Regions from separate parts of the Homo sapiens genome. Here region 1 is linked to region 2. Evidence: promoter capture Hi-C in human tissues and cell types (Jung and others, 2019). All regions are on one chromosome and are shown on one strand. The core of a region is centred on a gene start or on the middle of the fragment in contact, and the rest is flanking DNA. Distances in the headings are between cores, read along the strand shown.

Region 1 (5,700 bases), core at 137-2,636, 84 kb after region 2:
GACCCTTGCTGTCCTCTGACAGAGAAAAACAGGGGTCCTCCCAGCCCTGTCCAACTCCCGGGACCTCTCGGGCCACCACTCAGCCTTCCCTGCAAGTCCATTGTGAAGGGGAGGGCATAGCTACTTCCTGCGGTGGCAGGCCTGGAGGGCCTGCATCTACTTCCTATTACCCATGGCCTTCAGCTTATAGCCTGGCCTGCCCCTGCACTGCTCTGCCCACTTAGGGAATTCCTGAGCCAGTGGGCTCCCCTAGTCCACACTACCCTAAGATTTCTCAGTTCCAAAAAGCCCTCAAAGACATAAGTTCCACATTCATCCTCACTCCTCTGCTCCAGTATCTCCAGTCCCTGAGATAGGAAGTTCACCATGATGTCTAACTACCATCTTTCCTATCATAAGCAAAACATCCTGAGCAGGCAAGATTTGAGGCCCTATCTGTAACATGGGGATAAGTCGGCCAGTTTCTGCCTTCATCTCTCCCCTTCGCCTTTACCCCTCTGGTGCCCCACTTAGACCAGTTGCTCCTTTAGCAGCCAGTGTGAGCCAGTCTTTCTCAAGGGCCAGTGTTTGCCCCAACAGGAAGCACAGTCACCGCCCCAGGCTGCCTCTAGGGGCGGCTCCTTCTCCCCTCTGAGGTGTCACACTCATTCCCTTGCTCTCCTTGTCACCCCAGCTCCTGGGCCCTCCTCATGCAGACCCTGCCCCTCTGTGTACCCTACTCCTGCTTTGCCCACTGGTTCTGCCTCTCCCAGCTGCAGGCCGAGCGAGATGTGCCTTCCTCACTCTTCTCACCTGTGCCACCCACAAGGCCACGCAGCCCATTCCCAAGACTGCCAGGGAAATGTTTAAGTTACAATATCAACAATAGTTATATTATTTTAATTAATTAATAATATTAATAATGATCAACAATCATGTGTTAATGCTTACTGTGTGCTGGCTATTATCCTAGGCATTTTTGGCGGGGGGAGGGCAACATCCTCCCACTAAGCGATTTTTATTTATTTATTTATTTTGAGATGGAGTCCCACTCTGTCACCCAGGCTGGAGTACAGTGGCACGATCTTGGCTCACTTCAACCTCTGCCTCCCGGGTTCAAGTGATTCTCCTGCCTCAGCCTCCTAAGTAGCTGGGATTACAGGCGTGCGCCAACATGCCTGGCTAATTTTTGTATATTTAGTAGAGACGGGGTTTCACCCTGTTGATTAGTCTGGTCTCGAACTCCCAGCCTCAAGTGATCCGCCCACCTCTGCCTCCCAAAGTACTGGGATTACAGGCCTGAGCCACCACACCAGGCCCCCACTAAACATTTTAATTGTACTATTGCAAGTAGTCCTCACAACTCTGTAAGGCAGATACTGTTTTTTTGTTTGTTTGTTTTGTTTTGTTTTTGAGACAGAATTTCACTCTGTCACCCAGACTGGAGTGCAGTGGCACAATCTCAGCTGACTGCAACCTCTGCCTCCCGGATTCAAGTGATTCTCCTGCCTCAGCCTCCCAAGTAGCTGGGATTACAGGTGCAAGCCACCATGCCCAGCTAATTTTTGTATTTTGGTAGAGACGGTGTTTCACTATGTTGGCCAGGCTGGTCTCAAACTCCTGAACTCACTGAATCCACCCACCCTGGCCTCCCAAAGTGCTGGGATTACAGGCGTGAACCACTGCGCCCGGCCTATATACTGTTATTATTCTCATTTTGCAAATGAGGAAACTAAGGCTAAGAGAGGTTCAGAAACTTGCTGAGGTCACACAGATGGTATGTGGAGCTGCTGGGACTCCAGAACCTAAGCTTAGCATCGGTACACTGGCGTGGACTGCTTACTCAGCCTGCCTCCTAGTAGTGGCTGAGGTGAGACCACCAAGGGGACAAGGGGATGCAAGACACAGTGAGGCCCTAGGGTATGCTCCCAATGCCAGCCTGTTCCCACAAAGTGTGCTGTGTTCCACCCCTGCCATCCTCAATTCCTTTTTCATCTTCTATTTCCCTTCCTTTTTAAATGTACATTTTACCATTTTAAAGTGTACCATTTAAACACTTTACAGTGTTTCCTGTTAGCTGCCTCCAGCAGGGTATAACTAAACAAGCAAACCTCCCAGGGCTGCCACAGAGGATCAAACGCTGCGTGAGCTCTCTGGAAACTGTCAAGCCCTCTACAAAATGCGGGTTGCATAACCAGAGCAAGTCACCCTCAGAGTGGGTACTCGGGGGTAAATTCTCTTGGGAGGAAAAGGTCTCTCTCTCTCTCTCTCTCTCTCTCTCTCTCTCTCTCTCTCTATCTCTATCTCTGTCTCTCACTCACGGGCAGGCCTTGGGCAGGTGGAAGCGCTGGAAGCACCCACAAGTGCAAAAGGGAGCACCTACCTTCAGGGCCACTTTCTGGGGACTAGGAACACAGCCGCACGGCTATCAGCATCCCTGGATCTGGGGCAGAGGAAGGCAGAAGCCACAATGGAGACCCTGGTCTGCACTCAGTAAGAACCAGGCAAACCGAACTGAGGCATCTCGGATGTGAATAGCCACAAGCTGTGAATCCTGACACTCACAGGGATGCCACATTAACATTAATGACAGTAAATACCCTAGAGGTCCCATCCCAGTGGTGCCCTAGAATCCCCCTCCTTTTGCCTATTACTTTGGAAGACAGCAGAAGTCTAGTGGGCAGATTCTCCACGTGACCTGATTCCCTTTTGCAGCCAGGCTGCCCTTGAGACTTGGTTGAAGGGGTTTTTCCAGATCACAAATCCAGCTAGGGTGCTTACACTGCCTTCAGGTCACTCAACAGACAGATGGCATGGTCCTGGGTACTGATTTGGACAAACCAGCTGTAAGGACAATTTCTGGCCAACTGGGAATTCCGTTAAGATGAAAATTTACTGTAATGGAAGGTGGAAATCACTGACTGAAAAAACAGTATATGCAGAGTAATCTCATTTTCATAAAAATTACAACACATAAAGACACATACGGAAATGGAAAGATGTGCAGTGATCTCTGACTGATGCGTCTGTGATGTTTTTTATTTTTTAGTTTTTGCTGGTCTGTCCTGTCTGAGTATCCACAATGCACATGGACTGCCTCTGTAATAATTACGCAGCATATATACGTACATAGACACAGCCCATGGTAGCAAAGTCAAAGTGTGACCTCGGGCTCCCGTGAGCATTAGTCCACAGGGTTTTCACCGCCCCCGGGTCTTCTTGGACCATATATCCTCTGAGGTTCCGTGTTATCTACAACCTAGCGTCCTCTGCCCCTCCTGAGTCTCGCCAAGGGCCTATAACACAGAGCTGGGCACAAAGTCAGGACTTACTTAATGAATGCCTTCTGGCTGAATAATGATCATTTCCTGAAAGAAATGCCTCATGCCTCTTCCAGAGCCGCTGTGCTGGGAATACTCACTGCTGACATCACTGACCTGCCCACCCCTCCTCTGTTCTTCATAAGAGCAACAAGGGAAGGGCTAAAATAAAGTTCACCCCAGCAGATGCTGGCAAGGTACTCCACATCAGGGCCATCAGGGGCAGCCCCATCCCAGACCCTCCCCAAGCTGGCACAGCAGCCCCTCTCCAGGGCCAGCTGGCTTCAAGGCCCTGGGGTCCCTCCTCGCCCTGCCTCACTGGGAGAGGCTGGGAGAGGGAGTGAACAAGAGAAGCAGGGGTCCACCCTATGACTTCTGGCTACAGCTCTCTGGCTGTTCCAGGCCGCGATGGGTGGAGGAATCTGGAACAGGGATTTGGCCTGGTTTTTTCTGTGAACTGGGGCTAGGCCCAGTTTCTGTTCTTCGTGTCTGCAACATTCCCTATCCCTGACCTTCAAAAAATATGAACAATAACATTAATAATGATGATGAATATTCAGTGAGCCCTGACTTCATACCAGGCACAGAGCTAACTTTATTTACATTATCTCCTTTAATCTTCATAGCAACTCCATAAAGTTGAAACTGTAATTATTTTCACATTACAGATGAAGAAGTGGAGGCACAGAGCAAAATGTGCCCATAATCACACTTGCAGGAGAAACCGAGACTCAGCCAAGGCCATCCCATTCCTCCCTCTGCGTCCTTACAGGAAGCTCTCCTGCCAGGCTTTGCCATATATACAGTAGGGTCTAAGGCGATAATTAACATCTGTAGAGTGCTTTAAGCACTAAGTGGGGCACAGAGAAAAGCCCCACTTGAAACTAGGAAATCGAGTCTCAGAGCCATCAGCATCCTTACTCAAGATCCCACACCTTTCGACTAAGATTCAAACCCAGATCTCTGGCGTCAGAATGGCACATTTCTTCCCTATTATCACACGATGCCCCTGGCTCACTCTCAAGGCGGCCCCGGCTGCCTGGAAGGGAGAGTCACACCTCCTTCAGCGCTGGAATCTGGGGGGCGAGGCCTGCGCTCAGCCCCTCGCCCGGTGGGGGTGGGGTGCTGCGCCAGCACCTCCTCAGCGTCTCCGCCGTGACTCACTCCCGGGACCCAGGGGAAGCACAGCCCTGCGCTGCGGGCAAACATCGTCCGCCGCCCGCCCCGCCTCCAGCTCCCCGCCTCCACATTTGCTAACCGAAACAAGGCTGCTGCTATTTTTAACCCTCCAGCTCCCCCTTGCCTGGGGCTCCCCCCTTCACCTCCCCACCCCCCGCCCCAGCCGGGTGCCACCAGCCTGTCATTCTGAGAGCAGTTCTATAACCTGAACGCGCCTGGGAGGGCGCAGCGGACGTCCCGGACGTGCAGGTTTGTGGGGCAAGCAAAACAAGACGGTTACAGCCCAATCGCCGAATTCCCCCACCCCAGACTCTTTCCGAACCTGTCACTCCCAGACTGCCCTGCTCCTCCTGCCATTCTGGGGGTTGGGGTAGAGGGGAATGGGACTTCTGGGCTGGGGTCACCTCAGGAGCCAGAGCTAGGCTCCTTGGAATGGGTCCTGCAGGGAGGAAGCTGAACTGAAGGGGATTGGAGTTCCCCTACGGATCCCCAGGGTGAGAGGCTGACCCTATAGGCCCAAAGCTTCTGACCACCAGGGTTTACAATCCCTGCAGGCAAGATGGAGGAAAAAGGAAGTGGTGCGGAGACAGGGTGGGGATGGTGAGCTTAGCCCAGGGCCTTCCTGACGAGGAGAAGTCCCCTCCCCATCCTGCTGTGGGGGCTGTGGAGCTTGGGCGGGAAGGCCTGGGAGTCGGGAAGAGCACTGAGCAGCCTCCAGAGAGGCCCAGGGTGGAAGGCAGCCTTGGCAGTGTGCAGGGGGAAAAGCGGACCTGGAGTCAGGGCTCCTTTGACACTCAATAATCTAAGGCAAGGGCCAGGCAACACCTTCCTGCAGCCTGAAGCTCTGGGTCCCCAGAAAAACCTTCCTGGGAGAAGAGGTTGGAGGTGAGAGGGGCTGAGGCCTGCTGGCCTAGAGCCGGAACCTGACACCCAAGTTGCTGATGTGAAAGTTAACCTCCTGAGAGGGGTGAAGCGTAGAGCTGCAGGTGGACCAGACAGGGGCATTTCCTCCCAGCTGATGTAGAGCCCGTGTCTTGAATCAGCCCCATCTGGCCCTCTGGTCTCAGAGTCTCCCCCAGTTTGGGCAGCAGATTCCAAGGGCCCAGGAGAGACTCTGGAGAGCCCAGCCAAAGGGCCATCTGGGCTCAGGTTTTTCCCGTGTGCCTCTCCTGTCCCAGCCTCCATCCTCCCTTGAGCCCTGTCCTCTCTGGTCCCAACCCCA
Region 2 (5,160 bases), core at 2,063-4,562:
AATTTAAGCCTGGAGTGGGTTAGAGCTTAAATATTAGAGGTTGGGTTTGGTTACCAGTCCCTAGTATTGGATTCTGGGATTAAGGTTGATACTTTGTCTAATGAGGGACAGCATAGCAGAGAGGTCAAGAACCTAGACTCTGGCGCCAAACTGCTTGAGGCTGGAATTCTGGTTCTACTGCTTTCTAGCTATGTGATCTTGGGCAAGTTATTTGAACTTCTGTGCGTTGGTTTTCGTATCTGTAAAAGTGGGATGATAATGGAGCCTATCTCATAGAATATTTGTAAGAATTAAATGAGTTAATATATGTAAAGCACTTAGGACAGCAAGTGACACATAGTAGTACCATAGAAGTATTTGTTAGGTGAATAAACGGTGGCAATATTTCATGCCCATCTTCCAAGTGACAAGTGTTCAGACTGGCTGGAGCAGTCTTCCCTGTGTTGTGGCCCCGTCGACACACTTAATCTAGCTGACACTCTCCCAGGGTTTCAACAGGGCCATCCCTTGGGCTGGGTTGTCAGCACATCTGTGTTGCTGGTTTCCTGGCTGACTTCATCACTACAGGTCTGTATTCTTTACATCAGAGAGGCATTGGGTCAAGGTTAACCCGGGTCCTCAGACAACTTCACATTGTCAGGCCTCCAAGGTGGGCAGGAAGGCAGGTTTCCAGTCCCTAAAAGAGACCAGGCCCAAGGCCACTTGTTCCTTCAAGCCGGCAGGAACTCCTCTTGAATGTTAAATGATGCTCCCTTGGAGCCTGAATGCAAAGACCTTAAGGAGAAATTTTCAGCCCATCAGCTCCCTGCTCAGTCAGCCTGGCAGTACACCCAGAATCCAAAGGGAGAGAATTCAGGCAAATCAGGGCAATGTTTTTAATGGGCCAAATCAGCAGAGTCCAGGGAAAGAATTCACTTCATTCCAGCAGCTGGCACCAGTTGAGAAGGGTTGCAAGCGAGCAGTCAGCTGGACGTGCAGGAGAGCACCCCCGCCGGCCCAAGCTGAGTGGGCTTTTTCATCTCTGCTCAAGAACTTTGTCTCCAGCAAGAGCCCCATGCCAGCACTTTCTCACATTTCTCTGTGCACTTAGTCTGCTTCAAGGTGACCTTGGGATTTGACAGTGGAGTGCAGGGGTGGGAGGAACTTTTCCTCATAGGCACTTTGCTGTGACATTCTGGGGACACTCTGATGAGTAACTAGTCACCCTAACAACTCACTCCAGCATCCCCACACTGCACCATTAACACCAACACTCTGAGTAAGCCTTGCTCCCCAAGCCAGGTGCCTGAATCACTGCTGTAGTAACCTGTGCCTCTTGTTCCTCTGCCTCACCTCTCTGACTCTCTGCCTTTCTTCATCTGAGCCTTTCCTCTCTCGGGTTCAGATTCTCCCTCCATTCCCCCAAGAAATGCTCAATTTCTCTGCACTTTCTAAGACTTCAATATGCCAGAACAGCCACTCCCTATCCATACTGGCCATCAAGGAAGCTTGGTCCCAAGCCTGGGTGGACACAGTGTCCCTGTACACTGGTGCTCAGCCCCTCTGATGACTGGGACATCCTACACATCTGTACCGTTAGAAGGCCCCAGATGCTGTTTCCATGGAGACCTAGTCAACCAAGAAGCCTCACCCCTTGGACTAGCTTCCTGCCTCCATTCACAACCAAAAAAATCAACCAAGGTTCTCCACAGACATCCAGCTCATAAAGGAGGACCTGAGGCTGTCAGTGATTCCCCATGTGATTCATATTCTTGCCTCTCAGTTCTGAGATGTTGGGATAGTATCAACAAGTGCAGAGCCTCTTCCCTGCCACCTTAGGAAGCCTCATACACTTGACCTCACTTCCCCATCGATCCCACAGCCAAAGCAGATACTGCCCTCCGACCTAGCAGCAAGAGCTCCACCTGCACTTCTAAAGCCACTGCTACCTCTGCCCCCCAGGGACCAAATATCCAGAGTTGCTCTCCTTCCCTAAGGCTGGAATATGCCAAGCCCGCTGGCCACCCCTACACATTAAGCCCCCAAGTTCCACCTTCCTCCCAACCAACAGGGCTGAGGCTGGTGGCTCCCAGGCCCACCCTCATGCTCTCCCACTGCCTCTCCACCCACTAGGGCCCAGGCAGAGCTGGTTTCTGGTAAGATGCACTATCTCATCCATGGTTGGGAGGCACAACTTCCTCTTCCAGGGGTTTTCCACTTAGAAATCCCATAAGGGTCTCCTTTCCACAACCCAGTTGGAAATGACCCCAAGCGGAAGTTTCTCCCAAGAAAATTTATAGTCATAATCATAGCGAATTTCCAGTTCACTGAGATCTCACTTTGCACCAGGTGCTTCTCATACATTATTTCATTTAATCCTTTCCACAGTCCTACACAGGAGCAACCCAGTGGAAGGATTCTTTCTCCTGTGGGCAGAGGAGGATTCTCCCCACACTCCTCAGCTCAGCCCCTCCCTTGGCACTCCTTCCCACCCACCCACTAGCTACCAATTAACCCATCAGCACCAGCATTTTGCACAGTTACTAAACAGGAACATGGTCCTGTTCCTCTGCCAGTCCCATCCCCTGGACCTCTCATAACTGTGGGCCAGGTCCCTTCTGTATTCTTCAATTCTCCTAACACTGCAACAGAGATCCATTCCTCTGACCCCTGTACAGCCCCAGATAGGACGAGGCCCACCTCCTGGTCAAAGGTCCTTTCAGTTTCCTCCTAAGCCTGCCCACCTCCTAAGGCTCTACCCAAAGTAACATCACACCCTAAACAACCTCACCTGTCACCAGGCAGTGGAAGGAGTGACCAAGGGCAGCCAGGCCACTCAGACCCCATGGACACCAGCCCTAGCTTTATTCCTTACAGTGGCCCCAGACAACAAAATCTTGGGGAGATCAAAAGTCAGGCTGGACTAAGGGATATTTGGGGCTGATCCTCCAAGGTGTCAAGAAGGGAATTCCATGAAATCAGACCATCAGCCCTGCAACTCTCTCCACATAGTCCAGTCCATTCCGGGACCAACGCCTGCACCCTCAGACAAGGACAACCCAAAAGTGCTCTGCGGCTTTAGGACAGAGCTCACCCTCCCTTGTCCCACGGCCCTGCCCTCTACCAAGTTCTCCAACTCTCTGCTTCTTTAGGCAAGATCCCGCCCCACCAGCAATCCCATGCCCGCCAGATAGTGACTTACCAGCCCAGGCCAGGCCACACAGCACGGCCAATACCAGGGAGATGCAGGCCCTCATGGTGCCCAGTTGGAGGCCAAAAAGGGAGTGGCTGTTGGACTTTCACTAGAGTCAGATGAATGTCACAGCTCTCAGACGAGCCTTATTCCTCAAGCTGATCCTTTTAAAGACACCAGGACTTGTGGAGCTGGTGTCTCCAGATCCTTTCAGGAAGAAAAAGGGGAGGGAGGGACCCTAGATGGATAGGAGGTGGGGCCCTACAGCTGTTTGAAGCCTGAGGGAAGGTGACTAAGAAGGTAGGTAATGCCAGATGTTGAGAACAGGTAATGCTAGCTGTTTGCAGCTTAAAAAATAGGTCATGCAGGCAGGCACACCAAGATGGGTCCAGTTTGGAGGGTTCTTTGTCCAAATTAGGGACACCCATGGGCTGATCTTTGGGTGATCCCCACCAAACAGACACCTACTTCCAAGTCTCAGACCTGACTTTCCAAGGGGCCACAGGTTGGATTCATCTTCAAATTCCTGGAGCTTAGCATGACACTGGCACACAGTAAGGTGATTGGTCCAAATTTGACAAACAGTAAGTGCCCAAGCAAGGGTTGGGGTCATTGGACAGAGAGATAGAGGATGTGTCGGTCAGAACCAGTGCTATTCTTATGACCACCAAGCCCAGCATAGCTAAATCAGCCACATGTCGAGCGCATGGCTAAATCACTCTAAAATATTATGCAAATGACTCTTACTGAGTCAGCCTCTGGGGTTTAAACGTTTCAGATTCCTTATGAGGCAGGGGAGGGGCAAGAGGCCTCTTAAAGGCAGCCGAAGGCCCACTCTTCTTCCCCTGGGAGCCCAGGGTTTCACTCCCTTCACCCCAACTTACACTCCTCTCCTCAGGAACTCCTCCCCAGTGAGGTTCTTTTGTTTCCAAGTCCAAAAGAAGGGGAGCAGCTCCCCGTGACTGTCCAGTTTTCCCCGATAATAAAGGTAAAATCTGCCAAGTATGATGCCCTTGCCAGAAAGAGCACTGCATGGGGATTCTCAACCCTCTCAGGAAAGAAAACTATCATATAAAAAGGCAAAATTGGTGAACAGTGGAGGCCACTCTATCAGTGATTTTTTTCTGGAGGTTGGGAGTGGAGCACGTCTTCATCCAGTGTGCTTTAACAGGAGAAGTTTCTTCCTCTCGCTGGTCTTCAGCTTTCTCATCTGAAATGATGGGGTTGGATCTGACAATCCCTTCCAGGTTCTCAGACTTTAATCTCGAGTTTTCCTGCCCATGCGCCAGGTTGAACAGTTGCTGGTGGGTTAAAGAGAATCCCCCAGCCTGTTGCTGTGTAGAGAGGAGTCCAAACATAGGGACTCAGGGGTAGAGAGAAGGACAAGCCTAGGGCAAGCAAACTTTGCAAGGGGCTCACACAGGAAGTGCAATGTATGTATATATTTTGAGATGGAATCTCTCTCTCTGTCGCCCAGGCTGGAGTGCAGCAGTGTGATCTCGGCTCACTGCAACCTCCATCTCCCCAGCTCAAGCAATTCTCATGCCTCAGCCTCCCGAGTAGCTGGGATTATAGGCATGCACCACCACACCTGGCTAATTTTTGTATTTTTAGTAGAGACCATGTTGGCCAACCTGATCTCAAACTCTTGACCTCAGGTGATCTGCCCACCTTGGCCTCCCAAAGTGCTGGGATTACAGGTGTGAGCCACTGCATCCAGCCCGGAAGCACAACTAAAGAGTGAGCCTAGCCCTTCTCTCCCAGAAGGGAGCTGGTTAGAATGAGTAAGAGCAGAAATGGCTGCTTCATTTGCATAGATTTCATTTACACAATCCAAAAGCAGGCTGAAGAGTCACTGCCCCTCAGAATCCTCATCCTCCCTGGGTTGGCACCACATAAACGTGTCTCTGACTCCTGTTGTTTAGGGGACAAAGGAGGGTGTCACTGGCTGGCCTGGGAAGCAATGATGCCTCAGAATTTGGGAATGA

The links. The method cuts DNA at HindIII sites, captures the fragments that hold promoters and counts their contacts. A contact is called where the count stands out against the background at its distance.
Region 1: a contact is called between a fragment that was not itself captured here and the fragment with the promoter of ENDOU in region 2, in 2 of the 25 tissues and cell types used here (IMR-90 fibroblasts and aorta).

What each region holds. Positions count from the first base shown.
Region 1 is chr12:47,808,573-47,814,272 of GRCh38, forward strand. All of the region lies in intron 1 of HDAC7 (histone deacetylase 7), which reads right to left. Among named protein-coding and RNA genes, the nearest start is that of HDAC7, 8.5 kb to the right of the region's middle. RefSeq lists enhancers at 360-429, 5,220-5,269, 5,280-5,359 and a silencer at 4,450-4,639. The HindIII fragment of the contact is 4,015 bases long and covers 1-3,394 here.
Region 2 is chr12:47,722,178-47,727,337 of GRCh38, forward strand. It overlaps ENDOU (endonuclease, poly(U) specific), which reads right to left and starts at 3,313. Exons shown (of 10, transcript NM_001172439.2): 1 at 3,182-3,313. The coding sequence starts at 3,236. All of the region lies in intron 3 of RPAP3-DT (RPAP3 divergent transcript), which reads left to right. RefSeq lists silencers at 3,828-3,947, 4,913-4,972. The HindIII fragment of the contact is 12,082 bases long and covers 511-5,160 here.